3 separate regions of the Homo sapiens genome follow, and regions 2 and 3 are each linked to region 1. Evidence: promoter capture Hi-C in human tissues and cell types (Jung and others, 2019). All regions are on one chromosome and are shown on one strand. The core of a region is centred on a gene start or on the middle of the fragment in contact, and the rest is flanking DNA. Distances in the headings are between cores, read along the strand shown. Region 1 holds the start of GOT1L1 (glutamic-oxaloacetic transaminase 1 like 1). Region 2 has its middle 31 kb from the start of ADRB3. Region 3 overlaps RAB11FIP1 (RAB11 family interacting protein 1).

Region 1 (4,599 bases), core at 1,374-3,873:
ACACATAAATGTTGATAGCAATTACCTTAAAATATAAATGTCAAAGAATAGAAACTGGATGGAGGTGCACCCGGACTGAAGTTATGGATTGGTTGTAGGGAATTTGTGTGCTTCATTATAATTTTTTGATGCTTTTGAGTTTTCTACAATAATACGGACTACTTTCATAATCATTTGCCTCAAAACAGGTTCCCTGGGAGCATAGCCTGAGACAGGAGTTCCTGGGCATGTGACTTAGGGAAGGAGTGCCCTTCAGGAAGAACCTGGAAGGGAGTGAAGGAAGCAGGATTGTGAAGGGGAAGGAACCAAGCAAGGATGTGGCCTCAGGTCAAGTCTAGGCTTCGCCTGGTTGGGGAATGGGCCCTGAAGTGTAGATTGAGCCACAGAGGTGAACCGAGACAAGGGGGCTGGCCTTTTTTCTTTTTCTTTTCCTTTTTTTTTTTTTTTGAGACAGTCTCGCTCTGTCACCCAGGCTAGAGTGCAGTGGAGAGATCTCGGCTCACTGTGCCCTCTGCCTCCCGTGTTCAAGCAATTCTCCTGTCTCAGCCTCCTCCCTACATGCGCCCACCACCAAGCCAGGCTAATTTTTTTTTTGTATTTTTAGTAGAGACGGGGTTTCACCCCATTAGCCAGTATGGTCTCAATCTCCTGTCCTTGTGATCTGCCTGTCTTGGCCTTCCAAAGTGCTGGGATTACAGGTGTGAGCCACCGTGCCCGACCTTTTTTTTTTTTTAAAGACAGGATCTCACTCTGTCAACCAGGCTGGAGTGCAGTGCCATGATCATAGCTCACTGCAATACCACCACGCCCAGCTAATTTTAAAATTTTTTGTGGAGTGGGTGGGGGGGGTCTCCCTATGTTGCTCAGGCTGGTCTTGAGCTCCTGGGCTCAAGTGATCCTCCCGCCTCAGTCTCCCAAAGCACTAGGATTGCAGGTGTGAGCCACCATGCCTGGCTGTGGCTGACCCTTTGTATGCCTAAATCAGGCAGTCATTGGCTACCCCTGTCAGTGGGGGTGAAACCTCCAGGTGGTTTCTAGGCTAGCTGACTCCTGCCAGCCAAGCACAATTCTCCAGAGAACACAGGCATATAAGCCTTGTCCACCAGCGAAGCAGCAGCTGGGGCCGGGCACATTGGTGGTGAAGGCCTTCTGGGTGAGACATCAACAGTGTTTGCAACAATCATTTAAAGAGTTATTTAACATCAGGCTGGGTGTGGTGGCTCATGCCTGTAATCCTAACACTTTGGGAGGCTGAGGTAGGCAGATCACTTGAGGTCAGGAGTTTGAGACCAGTCTGGCCAACGTGGTGAAACCCTGTCTCTACTAAAAATACAAAAAAAAGCCGGGCGCAGTGACTCACGCCTGTAATCCCAGCACTTTGGGAGGCCCAGGTGGGCAGATCACCTGAGGTCTGGAGTTTGAGACCAGCCTGATCAACATGGAGAAATCCCCCTCTCTACTAAAAATACAAAATTAGTTGGGTGTGGTGGCGCATGCCTGTAATCCCAGCTACTCGGGAGGCTGAGGCAGGAGAATCTCTTGAACCTGGGAAGCAGAGGTTGCAGTGAGCCGAGATCACACCACTGCACTCCAATGTGGGCAGCAAGAGCGAGACTCTGTCTCAAAAAAAAAAAAAAAAAAAAAGAGAGAGTCATTAAACATCAAAAGGAAAAGAAAGCAAGCAATATGCAGACTGACTCTATAGAGGCTGGCTCTTTTCTCCCCTTGGCCTCTGCTGTCTATACTTACTAGTTGGCTGTCATTGAAACTTAACAAATGGCCAGGTGTGGTGGCTCATGCCTGTAATCCCAGCAGTTTGGGAGGCCAAGGCAGGCAGATCACCTGAGGCAAGGAGTTCGAGACTATCGACAAAGTGAGACTCCATCTCAAAAAAAAAAAAAACCAAAAAAAGAAAGAAAAAGAAACTTAACAAACATATGTAGAAGTCTTGGCTCTAGATAACTGAGAGAAATAGGACTGGCTTAGTGAGTTGCCAATTATATTCTAATAATAGGATTCTTTATTAAAACAACTGTGGAAGAAAACAGTGTTTGCTTTTTATTCCTTTTGAAATCTGGGGCACTTTGCAAAATGGAAATCAATGCCTCGACTTGCATTGGTGTGTGATCTGGGGTTTTTGCTTCTGCAGGAGAAGCCCTATCTGGCTTATTGGCTGCCTGCCTTGCCCTATGTCTTTCTTTCTTTTTTTTTTTTTTAATTTGTATAAATGTGTGAAGTACAAGTGTAATTTTGTTAGATGCATACATCGCATAGTGGTGAAGTCAGGGCTTTTAGGGTATCCATAACCCCAACAATGTACATTGTATCTGTTAAGTAATCTCCCATTATCCTTGCCCTGTCATCTAAGGAGTGGGCTTGTTACTTTGGACTGAGCCACCTGGGGCTAGAGAAGAGAAGGCATTGAGTGAGGGAAACGGGCTTGGGAATTCCGGAGATTGTTATCCTGCCCTGCCCGCTGTCTGAGGGGATTCTCCTCAAGTACCCTGGAATGTTCCTGTGGCCCCTGTGGATCGCCACCACAAAGATCATGAGGTTCTGTTGCCCTGGCAACCCGTTGTCCAGCGCCTCTGCACTGGGGCTGCCAAGGTTCCAGGAAGAGGCAGGACTGCCCGGCCCAGCCTTGGAGGAAGACTTCTGGGCAGAAGCGGAACACAGGAGCAGAGACACATAGTCTTGGCTCCAGTTTCGTTTCAGTTATGCCCACCCTTTCAGTGTTCATGGATGTGCCCCTCGCCCACAAGCTAGAGGGCAGCTTGTTAAAGACCTACAAACAAGATGATTACCCGAACAAGATATTCTTAGCCTATAGAGGTAGATGCCTAGCAGTTCTGAAGTATAAGACTTAAGTGATGGTAACTGCCTCTAGGAGGACAGTGTTCCCTGCTGCAGGGGGAGGGGTGCAGCCCAAGCTTCTGTGGGTGGAGAGATCTTTTCTTGTTAACAGAATTACCCAGTGGGGAAAAGTGCAGATAAGGTCCCAGGTCATTCCATGCTCTCTGCCCTTCTCTGGGGGCTTCTAGGGATTTGGTGAGAGCTATGTCCTCTTCCACAACTCTATGCTTGGGGGCCTGCATGGCCATCCCACACTTCTTCAGATTCTTACCTCCTCTCTCTCTCTTTCTCTTTCTCTTCCTGTTCTTGAACCAAGAATGGTTCTCCAGATTGAGCTTTCTGCTATGCAACTGGGGCTCACCACTGTGAAAGTCAGGGTTACCTTTATTTAGCTTCATCTACCTATAACTCTCATTTTGCATATATATATATATATATATATATATATATATATATATATATTTTTTTTTTTTTTTTCTTGAGACAGGGCCTCACTCTGTTGCCCAGGCTGAAGTGCAGTGGCAAGATCTCAGCTCACTGCCACCTTTGCCTCCTGGGCTCAAACCATCCTCTTGCCTCAGCCTCCTGAGTAGCTGGGACTACAGGCGCTGGTCACCATGTCTGGCTGTTTTGTATTTTTTTGTAGAGACAGGGTTTCATCATGTTGCCCAGGCTGATCTTGAACTCCTGAACTCAAGTGATCCACCCACCTTAGCCTCCCGAAGTGCTGGGATTACAGGCCTGAGCCACCAATCCTGGGCTTGTATAATTTTTAACCTTTAAAATGGCATAGGTTTCAGTTGTCTTTTTTAAAAAGACAAAAATAATACACATTCACTAACAGCATATTCTTTTCATCAAGGAGAAAAGAAAAGGGAAAGTTGTATTTTCACAGGCACCTTCCCACAGCCCCATGGAGTCCAGGAGAGATTTGTTTGCAGGCTGTCTGCAGAGCTCAGCCCTGGGGGCCCAAACCAGGCATCTGGAGCTCCCTCTGTGGTTTTCCTCACAGTCTGCATGACAAATGAAGGCCATCCCTGGGTTTCTCTCGTGGTGCAGAAGACTCGACTACAGATTTCACAGGATCCCTCCCTGAATTATGAGTACTTGCCCACCATGGGCCTGAAATCATTCATCCAGGCCTCTCTAGCACTCCTCTTTGGAAAGCACAGCCAAGCCATTGTGGAGAACAGGGTGAGAAGGTGGGCCCTCCCCTGGCTCATTTAGACACAGAGAGTGGCGATCTGGGTCTGCACAACCTTAAACCCGAAGGGGACCTCGGAGGGCCCCCTGGTATTGATAAAAGAGATACCTGAGGCTCAGAGAGTCCACAAGTCCTTAGCCATCGAGTCAGGATCGGAATCTCAGTCCAGTGGTATTCCCACCTGCTCACACTGCTGATTTGAAAGCTCTTTCAAGACAGGAATGATCTGAATTGGAGGTGGTGTTAGTATTCCCATTACTGTTTTATTTTTTAACCTATTATATATATTTTTTGAGACAGAGTCTCACTCTGTCACCCAGGCTAGAGTGCAGTGGTGCCATCTCAGCTCACTGCAACCTCCACCTCCCAGGTTCAAGCAATTCTGGTGCTGCATCCTCCTGAGTAGCTGGAATCACAGGCATGTGCCATCACGCCCAGCTAATTTTTGTATTTTTTGTAGAGACAGGGTTTCACCATGTTGGCCAGGCTGGTCTCAAACTCCTGGCCTCAGGGGATTCCCTGCCTCGTCCTCCCAAAGTGCT
Region 2 (4,599 bases), core at 668-3,167, 58 kb before region 1:
AGGAGGCCGAGGCGGGCAGATCACGAGGTCAGGAGTTTGAGACCAGCCTGACCAACATGGCGAAGCCTCATCTCTACTGTAAATACAAAAATTAGCCAGGCGTGATGGCGGGCACCTGTAATCCCAGCTACTCGGGAGGCTGAGGCAGAATCGCTTGAACCTGGGAGGCGGAGGTTGCAGGGAGCTGAGATCGTACCACTGCACTCCAGCCTGGGCAACATGGTGAGGCTCTGTCTCAACAAAACAAAAAACCAAAACCGAAAAAAAAACAAACCAAAACAAGAACCAGAAAGCAAATCCTGATCCTGAACAAATGTGTGTGTGTGTGTGTGTGTGCGCCTGTGTGTGTCTGTGCCTCTGTGTGTGTGTGTCTGTGTGTGTATGTGTCTGTGTGTACATGTGGATGCGTGTGTGTGGAGTATCACGATGCACTCTTCTTGCATTGGGGGCGAGTCCCCAATTGTGGACCGAAGTCCACAATTCCGTTGTGCACAGGGTGAGGATTCAAGGTCCACAATCTCTAAATGTTCCTCCCCACCCCAAATACTTCTTCCATTCACAGGTTGATGCCTAGAATTTTCCCATTTTAGCTTTTTTCTTTTTCTTTTTTTTGAAACAGAGTCTTGCCCTGTCACCCAAGCTGGAGTGCAGTGCCACGACCATGGCTCACTCTCACAGCAGCCTCGACCTCCCAGGCTTAAGCCATCCTCCCACCTCAGCCTCCAGAGTAAGCTGGGACCACAGGCATGTACCACCACACCCAGATAATTTTTTAAATTTTGTAGAGATGGGGGTCCCACTGTGTTCCCCAGACTGGCCTTGAACTCCTGGGCTCAAGTGATCCTCCTGCCTTGGCCTCTCAATTTGCTGGAATTACAGGTGTGAGCCACTAAGCCTGGCTGCTTTTTTTCTTTCTTTCTTTTTTTGAGACGGAGGCTCACTCTGTTGCCCAGGCTGGAGTACAGTGGCGCTATCTCAGCTTACTGCAACCTCTGCCTCCCCGGTTCAAGCAATTCTTCTGCCTCAGCCCCCTGAGTAGCTGGGACTATAGGCACTTGCCACCATGCCCGGCTAATTGTATTTTTAGTAGAGATGGGGTTTCACCATATTGGCCAGACTGGTCTTGAACTCCTGACCTCGTGATCCACCTGCCTCAGCCTCCCAAAGTGCTGGGATTATGGGTGTGAGCCACAGCGCCCAGCCCTGGCTGCTTTTTTCTTTTCACTAAAGTTTCTGCAAAACTGTAAACATGTCCTTGGAATCCGAGACTGTACAAGGAAGAAAGGAAACAAACGTTATGGAGCTCTTACCCAGTGCCTGCACTGCACAAGGTTGCACATGGATGGAATCACTGAATGTCCCCACGACCTTATAAGAAAAGTATTAGTATCTTCATTTCACACACGAGGGAGAGGAGGTTTGGGGTCGGCGGGGGTGGGGGGATAGCCTGCCCATACCCAAAGCCCATTTTTTTTTTGAGACAAGGTCTTGCTCTATGGCCCAGGCTGGGGTGCAGTGTTGTAATGATAGCTCCCTGCAGCCTCCACCTCCTGGGCTCAAGTGATCCTGCCACCTCAGACTCTGGAGTAGCCAACTACAGGTGTGCACCACCACACCCGCCTCATTGTTTGTTTGTTTGTTTATTTATTTATTTATTTATTTTACTTCTTGTAGAGACTGGGTCTCATTATGTTGCCCAGGCTCCAAATTTAAGTATTTGCATAATGTATTTAATCCAAAACCCATACACTTAACCACTCTACCAATGATTCCCGCACTTCAGAGTATATCACATCAGCTGAGGAGTTTGTGAAATAGGTGAAATCTTTAGCTGAGAGCAGGTTTTACTGGGAGAAGGGGAAAACCATCTTAAAGAAGAGAGAGGTGAGGACAGTGTGTTTGTCTGCTTGGGCCGCTATAACAAACAAAATAGCATAAACTCAGCGACTTAGGCAACAGACATGTATTTTTCACAGTTCTGGAGTCTAGAAGTCCAAGATCAAGGTGCTGGCTGATTTGGTTGCTGGCGAGGGCCCTCTGCTTGGTTTGTAGATTGCTGCCTTCTCACTGTGAACTCAGAGGGCAGAGAGAGAGAGATGGAAAGGAAGAGAAAGAAAGGGAGAGAGGGAGAAAGGGAGAGGGAAAAAGGGAGAGGGAAAGGAGGAGAGAGAGAGAAAGAGAAAGGGAAGCAGGCAAGGAGAGAGGAAGGGGAGAGGGAGAGAGAGAAGTGGTAGAGGGAGAGAGAGAGAGAAAGGGAAAAAGGGGGCGAGGGAAAGAGAGACAGAGGGAGAATGGGAGAGAGAGGGGGGAGAGAGAAAGGATGGGAGAAAAGAAGGAGAGAGAGGGAGGGTGAAAGGGAGAGAGAGAGGGAGAGGATGGGAGAAGAGAGGGAGAGAGAGGGAGAAAGGGAGAGAGAGAGAACTAGAGAAGAGAGAGAGAATTAGTGGGGGAAGGAGAGAGAGAGAGAAAGGGAGAAAGGGGGCGGGAGAGAGAGAGCGCGCGGGGGGGGGGGGCAAGAGAGAGAGAGAGAGAGCACAACCCAGCACGCCCTGCAAGAGTGCAAGAGCCTGTGGTGTCTTTTCTCATAAGAACACTAATCCCATCATGAGCGCTCCACCCTAATGATCTCATCTAAACCTCCTTACCTCCCAAAGGCCCTACCTCCCAATCCCATTACATTGGGGTTAGGGCTTCAACACGTGAATTTGGGGAAGACACGAACATTCAATCCATTACAGACAGGAACCTTGAGGACTGTTGCCTGGGGCGGGTCCACACTGCGCTTCGGAGTGGTGACACTGGCCGGCCTCCGGCCCTCGGGAAGGACTCCAGGGTAACTGCCTTCCTTTTCCCTTCTGCGGACTCCAACGGAACCCTGGACTCAGTCTTCTAGCCTCACTGGATCTCACAAAAAGCAACCCTCTCAGTATGGACATATTTGAAAACTCAAAGCCGATGGTGCAGTGTTAATTCCATGAGTTTTGTGGATAAAAAGTTCTGGGTTCAAAGTCCACTAACTTCCTATGCACCCTTTACAAATCACTCTGAAATTCCATTTTTTTTTCCACGAGTGAAATGGAGGAAGCACTACTTCCCCATGTAAAACCTAAGGCGTCATGTTGGGAACCGTGGTGGACTCACAGGGAATGCCCAGCGCCGTTGAGCAGCCGCCTCCTGGTTCCCAGGCTGGGCTTCTGCCAACAGGCCCTCAGTTTCCTTTATTGGAGACACAAAATGTGACATTTATTAAGTGTCCCAGCGCACTGGGGACCAGTTCTGCCCATGGACTCGCCTCTGTCCCTAACCTCTGGGTTGGCATGTACATGAGAAAACATGCGGGTCAACAAAAAAGAAAGACATGGGGGTGTGATGGGAAGGGGTAGCCGGAATGTCCTCGAAAGCCACCCCAGAGCGTGGGAAGTGCTGGGGGAGCCCCAGGGCGCTCCCATGGGGTGAACGCTGCGCCGCAGCTCCCTCTAGTGGCACTCTTGGTGAGACTGTAGGGTTTGATTTGTGAATATATATATATATATTTTTTAGACAGAATCTGGCTCTGTCGCCCAGGCTGGAGTGCAGTGGCGTGATCTCGGCTCACTGCAACCTCTGCCTCCAGGGTTCAAGCAATTCTCCCGCCTCAGCCTCCCTAGTAGCGGGATTACAGGCATATGCCACTATGCCAGGCTAATTTTTGTATTTTTAGTAGAGATGGGGTTTCACTATGTTGGCCAGGCTGGTCTTGAACTCCTCACCTCAGGTGATCTGCCTGTCTCAGCCTCATAAAGTGCTGGGGTTACAGGCGTGAGCCACTATACCGGACCTTTTTTTCTTTTAAATAGAACCAGTTCATTTCACAGTTGGTCCATCAGTCTGTCTTTTCATTCACTCTATAAATGTTTACACTATCACACACAGAGTCCAAATAAAATGAAACCAGAGCATTTTGTCATATTGGTGCAAATTTGAGGATGAAGGCTTTTGGCTCAATTTTATTTTATCTTAATTTGTTTGTTTTTTTAGAGACAGGGTGTTCTGTCGACCTGTCTGGATTTCAGTAGCACAATCATGGCTCACTGCAGCCTTGAACTCCTGGGCTCAAGCAATCCTCCCACCTCAGCCTCCTGAGTAGCTAAGACCACAGGTACACATCACCACACCCAACTAATTTTTAATTTTTTTTGTTTTCTTTGTAGAGATAGGGGTCTCACTATGTTGCCCAGACTGGTCTTGAACTCCTGGCTTCAAGTGATTCTCCTGCCTCAGCCTCGTTAAGTGTTAGGATTACAGATATGAGCTACTGCTCCTGACCTTGGCTCAATTTTAAGCAAATTATTGTGTCTTAGTGATTTTTTTTCTTTACTATAGATTTTTATTCTGTTTTTTTTTTTTTGTTTGTTTGTTTTTTTTTTGAGACGGAGTCTTGATTTGTCGCCCAGGCTGGAATGCAGTGGCGTGATCTCAGATCACTGCAACCTCTGCCTCCAAGGTTCAAATGATTCTCCCTCCTCAGCCTCCTGAGTAGCTGGGATTACAGGCACCCGACATCATGCCCAACTAATTTTTGTATTTTTAGTTGAGACGTGGTTTCACCATGTTGACCAG
Region 3 (4,599 bases), core at 1,264-3,763, 59 kb after region 1:
GACTGAGTTTAATGATAAGCAATAATAATTTGTTTATTGAAGGGATCATTTGATTTTTACTTTTGATAGGTGGCAAGATTTTTTCAGAATATGGGCTTAAAAATAAACTTGCTACATTGGGATTATGGCTCTCTTTTTCTGCCCTTTGGACTAGGGAAATGGACCCAACCCTGATTTCTGAGATAATTCAAGCTTTCAGGGCCTACGTGAAAGATAATACTGGAACACACCCACGCTGCCATCACATGCTGTGTTGCTAGGCTGGGACTTTATTATTTATGAGCTACTTCTGTGAGGTGCAGGAATTAAGTGAACTGAAAAACACATGGGCAGTAACACTTAGAAACTGGGTTGATCTTAAATATAAAAATCCCCAGATGTGTTCTTCTGGTTTGGGATTTCTTAGGGCAAGATATTCAAGCACTGTGGCTTTCACTGTCTTATCAAAGTATGCTTCTATCAAACATCCCTTGCTTAAACTGTTTTTGAATTTGAGGATAATATTGCTAGTAAAAGAAACAATTCTTGGCTGGGCACAGTGGCTCACGCCTGTAATCCCAACACTTGGGGAGGCTGAGGCAGGCGGATCACCTGAGGTCAAGAGTTTGAGACCAGCCTGGCCAACATAAAATTAGTTGGGCATAGTTGCGCACGCCTGTAATCCCAGCTACTCAGCAAGCTGAGGCAGGAGAATCGGTTGAACCCAGGAGGAGGAGGTTGCAGTGAGCTGAGATCACGTCACTGCACTCCAGCCTGGGCGATAGAGTGAGACTCAGTCTCTAAAACAAACAGACAAACAAACAAACACCAAGAAAAAAAAACCAGAAAAAAAAAAAAACGAAACAATTCTTGTTTTGCTTTCCAGCTTTAATACATGGAGCACAGATTTGTAAATTCTGCCTCTTTGCCTGGGCTGTTTCCCTGCTGGCCTGTGATTCAGCCTGTTTCATATCCTTCAATAGCCCCGTGGCTGGTGCCTGGCTACCTGGTGTTTGGCTTTAGGTTTGCTTGTGAAATTAAGCAGCAAGAACAGTTGGTGACGTTTATATTTGCACTTCCTAATGGTGTTGGAAGTTTCCAAAGCAAATCCCACTTTAGGACCCAGGGATTGGACCTGAGAATCAGGTAATAATTGGTCCCGAGGGAGGATTCTGGAATCGGTTGTAGTTTTGCTCAAAAACCATTAGGAAGTGCAAAGAAAACCTCACTGATACTTTCGGAAAGGCAAGGCTGGCCCTTGGAATTGTCAACTGGCTATGTTACAGGAAAGGGGTCCTGATCCAGACCCCAAAAGAGAGTGTTTGGTCTCCCGCAAGAAAGAATTCAGGGCAAGTCTGCAGTGCAAAGTAAAAGCAAGTTTATTAAGAAAGCAAAGTATTGAAGGTACAGCTACTCCATAGACAGAGTAGGACGTTCCCGAAAGTAAGAGGAGGAACACCTCCACTCTAGGCACTATGCTTATTCATACACAGGATAAAAAGATCATTGAGAGATGTGCCCTACTACAAGGGTTTGTGATAAAGGATTAATTTTCTTAATTACTATATTTTGTGAGAATCAATATTATTAGCTTCAAAGCAAAATTAGGATAGCCTTTGTTCTCCAGATTTGGGGATATTAGAACACTCCCAAGTCTGGGTCTGTTTGGTAAACATTATCCATCTGTTCCCTTACCCATAAACATCTAGAGGCTAGGAATACCTAACTTTCTGGGAATGCAGCGCAGCAAGTCCCAGCCTCATTTTCCTAGCCCTCACTCAAGATGGAGTTGCACTGGTTTGAATGCCTCTGACAGCTGCTTTGGAGGCCTGTCACATTTGTGCATCCCCGTGGAGGGCTAATAGAAGGGCCCGTGTGGAAGAGCTGTGGAGAAACCCCTGCCTGAAGCTCCTGCCCTGGGCGGGGAGGTGAAGCGTGCTGCCCGCCTGCGGTTGGTGAGGTCATCGAAACCTCCTCAGTTAGCGTTCAGCAACTTCTCCTTTTCAGGTGCCTGCAACTGGTATTTACAAAAGCTAAACACCCTTCATCACCAAGGCTACCATTTACCACATGACTGTCAGAAGAGAAAAATATAAATAATCCTCTCAAAATTGAAGTGACAAATATGCAGACAATTCCAGGCCAGGCCCTGGAAAATGTATTGGACAGACACTAGGCTGGCAAGGGTGACATTGTCTATAAAGACCTTGCATTTTCCACTTGAGCCCAGGAGTCCAGGGCTGCAGTGAGCTATGATCGCACCACTGCACTCCAGCCTGGGCAAGAGAGTGAGACCCTGTTGCAAAAAATAAAAAATAAAAAAAGACCTTGCGTCTTGCAACACCCACCACTCCCCGCCTGCCCAGCTCTGGATTGAGGTTATAAAAACCATAAAAGATTTGTCTCCTAAGGGTCCAAAATTATAGCTCATATAATTTTATCCTCTCCTTGCTGTATTTTGTGAATTCATTTTAAGTTCTTCTTGATGACTTTGTATACTGGCCTTTAAGTAATCTCAACGATTTATGACTGATGGCAAGCTATGTTAGTTTCCTTCCTTTCTTCTTTCATCTTTGGACATTTAAATGAGAAGCTTAAATGTTTCTCAAAAAGAATTTAAATTTGAACCCTCTTTTCTCTATGTTACAAAAGATGGCCCATCCAAGATAAATTAGGAGAGAATTTAAAGCAGGAGTCTTGGTGTAGGGGAAAGAATAGGAGAAAGAATAGGGGAAACTGATTTGGAATCCTAGCTGTACCCCATAGTGGTTGCAAGACCTTGTGCCAGTTCTCAGACCTCTGAGCTTCAATTTCTTCATCTATAAAATGGGTATAATATCTACTCCGTGTCGTTCTTGTGAGGCTGAAATGAAGATGTCTCTGTGCGTAGGCAGTGTCAGGTATGCCACAGGTGCTGTTTAGGTGTTAGGTTTCGACTTTCCCCTGTGCCTTTCCTCTAAGTGTAGAAGGAGCCGTAGCAGTGGGGGCAGGGATCTGCCCTGTGAGCGAGCCACCAGCCATGGCTGAAGGTGAAAGAGGAAGTTGTGCTCATTTGGGCAAAACCATCATTTCCTTTAAGTCCACTACCTTCCGCTCTTAAATAGGTCACCGAAAAGAACTTCAGAATGTGAGTTCTCAGTTTGTGAGGGTGACCTGGTGGACAGCTCACTATAGACCAGGTATTTGGAGTTATTTGTCCCATTGTATGGTCTTGCTACAAACTGGGCTCACATTTTTTTTTTTTTTTTTTGAAAGGGATAGGGTCTCACTCTGTTGCGCAGGCTGGAGTGCAGTGGTGCAATCATAGCTCTTACTACAGCCTTGAACTCCTGGGTTCAAGTGATCCTCCTGCCTCAACCTCCCAAGTAGTTGGGACTATTAAGTACGCACCACTGCACCCAGCTAATTAAAAAAAAATATTTTTAGCCACGCTTGGTGGCTTATGCCTGTAATCCCAGCACTTTGGGAGGCCAAGGTGGGTGGATCACTTGAGGTCAGGAGTTTGAGACCAGCCTGTCTAACCATACCCTGTCTCTACTAAAAATACAAAGAATAGCTGGGCATTGTGGCATATACCTGTAGTCCCAGCTACTCGGGAGGCTGAGGCAGGAGAATCACTTGAACCCGGGAGGCGGAGGTTGCAGTGAGCCGAGATCGCGCCATTGCACTCCAGCCTGGGGGACAGAGCGAGACTCTGTCTCAAAAAAACAAAAATTTTTTTTTTGGAGAATGGGATCTTGCCTTGTTGCCTATACTGGTCTCAAACTCCTGGATCCAACCAATCCTCCTCTCTCAGACTCCCAAAGCACTGGGATTACAGGTGTGAGCCACTGTACCCAACCTGGCTCACATTCTTACAGTTCACCAAAGGTATAGGGCTCCTAAATGGAAAATGAATGCCATGAGATCTCCTTTTTCTGAAGCTTGTCTCTCAGTGGAGTTGGACTGGTATAATGTCATTTTTCACATCTTGAAGTGGGTTGCAAATGACCAAGTGTAATTCTTGGATAGTGTTTGAAATGTGACTTTTTCTGATTATTAAGCTAGGGAAGAAGGCTTCCTTTCCAACTAACCATTTTTTTTATTGTGGTAAAATATATGTAACATTAAATTTACCATTTTAACCTGTTTTTTTGAGACAGAGTCTCACTCTGTCACCCAGGCTGGAGTGCAGTAGTGTGATCTTGGCTCACTACAACCTCCCTCTCCCGGGTTCAAGCGATTCTCCTGCCTCAGCCTCTAGAGTAGCTGAAATTACAGGCATGTGGCACAACACCCGGCTATTTTTTGTATTTTTAGTAGAGATGGGGTTTCACCATGTTGGTCAGGCTGGTCACAAACTCCTGACCTCAAGTGATCTGCCCGCCTTGGCCTCCCAAAGTGCTGGGATTACGGGCGTGAGCCACTGCGCCTGGCCCCATTTTAACCATTTTTAAGTGTGCAGTTCAATGTCATTAAGAATATTCACATTGTTGTGTGATCATCACCGCCATCCATCTCCGGAACTTTTTCATTTTCCACAACTGAAGCTCTATACCCATCAAACATTAACTCCTCATTCTCTCCTTCCCCTCCTCCGGCAATCACCATTCTACTTTCTGACTGGATGAATTTGACTAA

Evidence for each region. Contacts are between HindIII fragments. The study calls those that stand out against the background at their distance.
Region 2: a fragment that was not itself captured here is called in contact with the fragment with the promoter of GOT1L1 in region 1 in 1 of the 25 tissues and cell types used here (neural progenitor cells).
Region 3: a contact is called between a fragment that was not itself captured here and the fragment with the promoter of GOT1L1 in region 1, in 11 of the 25 tissues and cell types used here (H1 embryonic stem cells, IMR-90 fibroblasts, adrenal gland and 8 more).

The regions. Positions count from the first base shown.
Region 1 is chr8:37,938,148-37,942,746 of GRCh38, reverse strand. GOT1L1 (glutamic-oxaloacetic transaminase 1 like 1) reads left to right here and starts at 2,623. Exons shown (of 9, transcript NM_152413.3): 1 at 2,623-2,832; 2 at 3,866-4,047. The coding sequence starts at 2,718. RefSeq lists an enhancer at 2,601-3,117. The HindIII fragment of the contact is 11,209 bases long and covers 1-4,599 here.
Region 2 is chr8:37,995,320-37,999,918 of GRCh38, reverse strand. No RefSeq gene overlaps it. Among named protein-coding and RNA genes, the nearest start is that of ADRB3, 31 kb to the right of the region's middle. The HindIII fragment of the contact is 7,620 bases long and covers 1-4,599 here.
Region 3 is chr8:37,879,398-37,883,996 of GRCh38, reverse strand. The region is part of intron 1 of RAB11FIP1 (RAB11 family interacting protein 1); the gene reads left to right. Among named protein-coding and RNA genes, the nearest start is that of RAB11FIP1, 18 kb to the left of the region's middle. RefSeq lists enhancers at 535-654, 2,063-2,172, 2,570-3,283, 3,284-3,998. The HindIII fragment of the contact is 7,013 bases long and covers 1-4,599 here.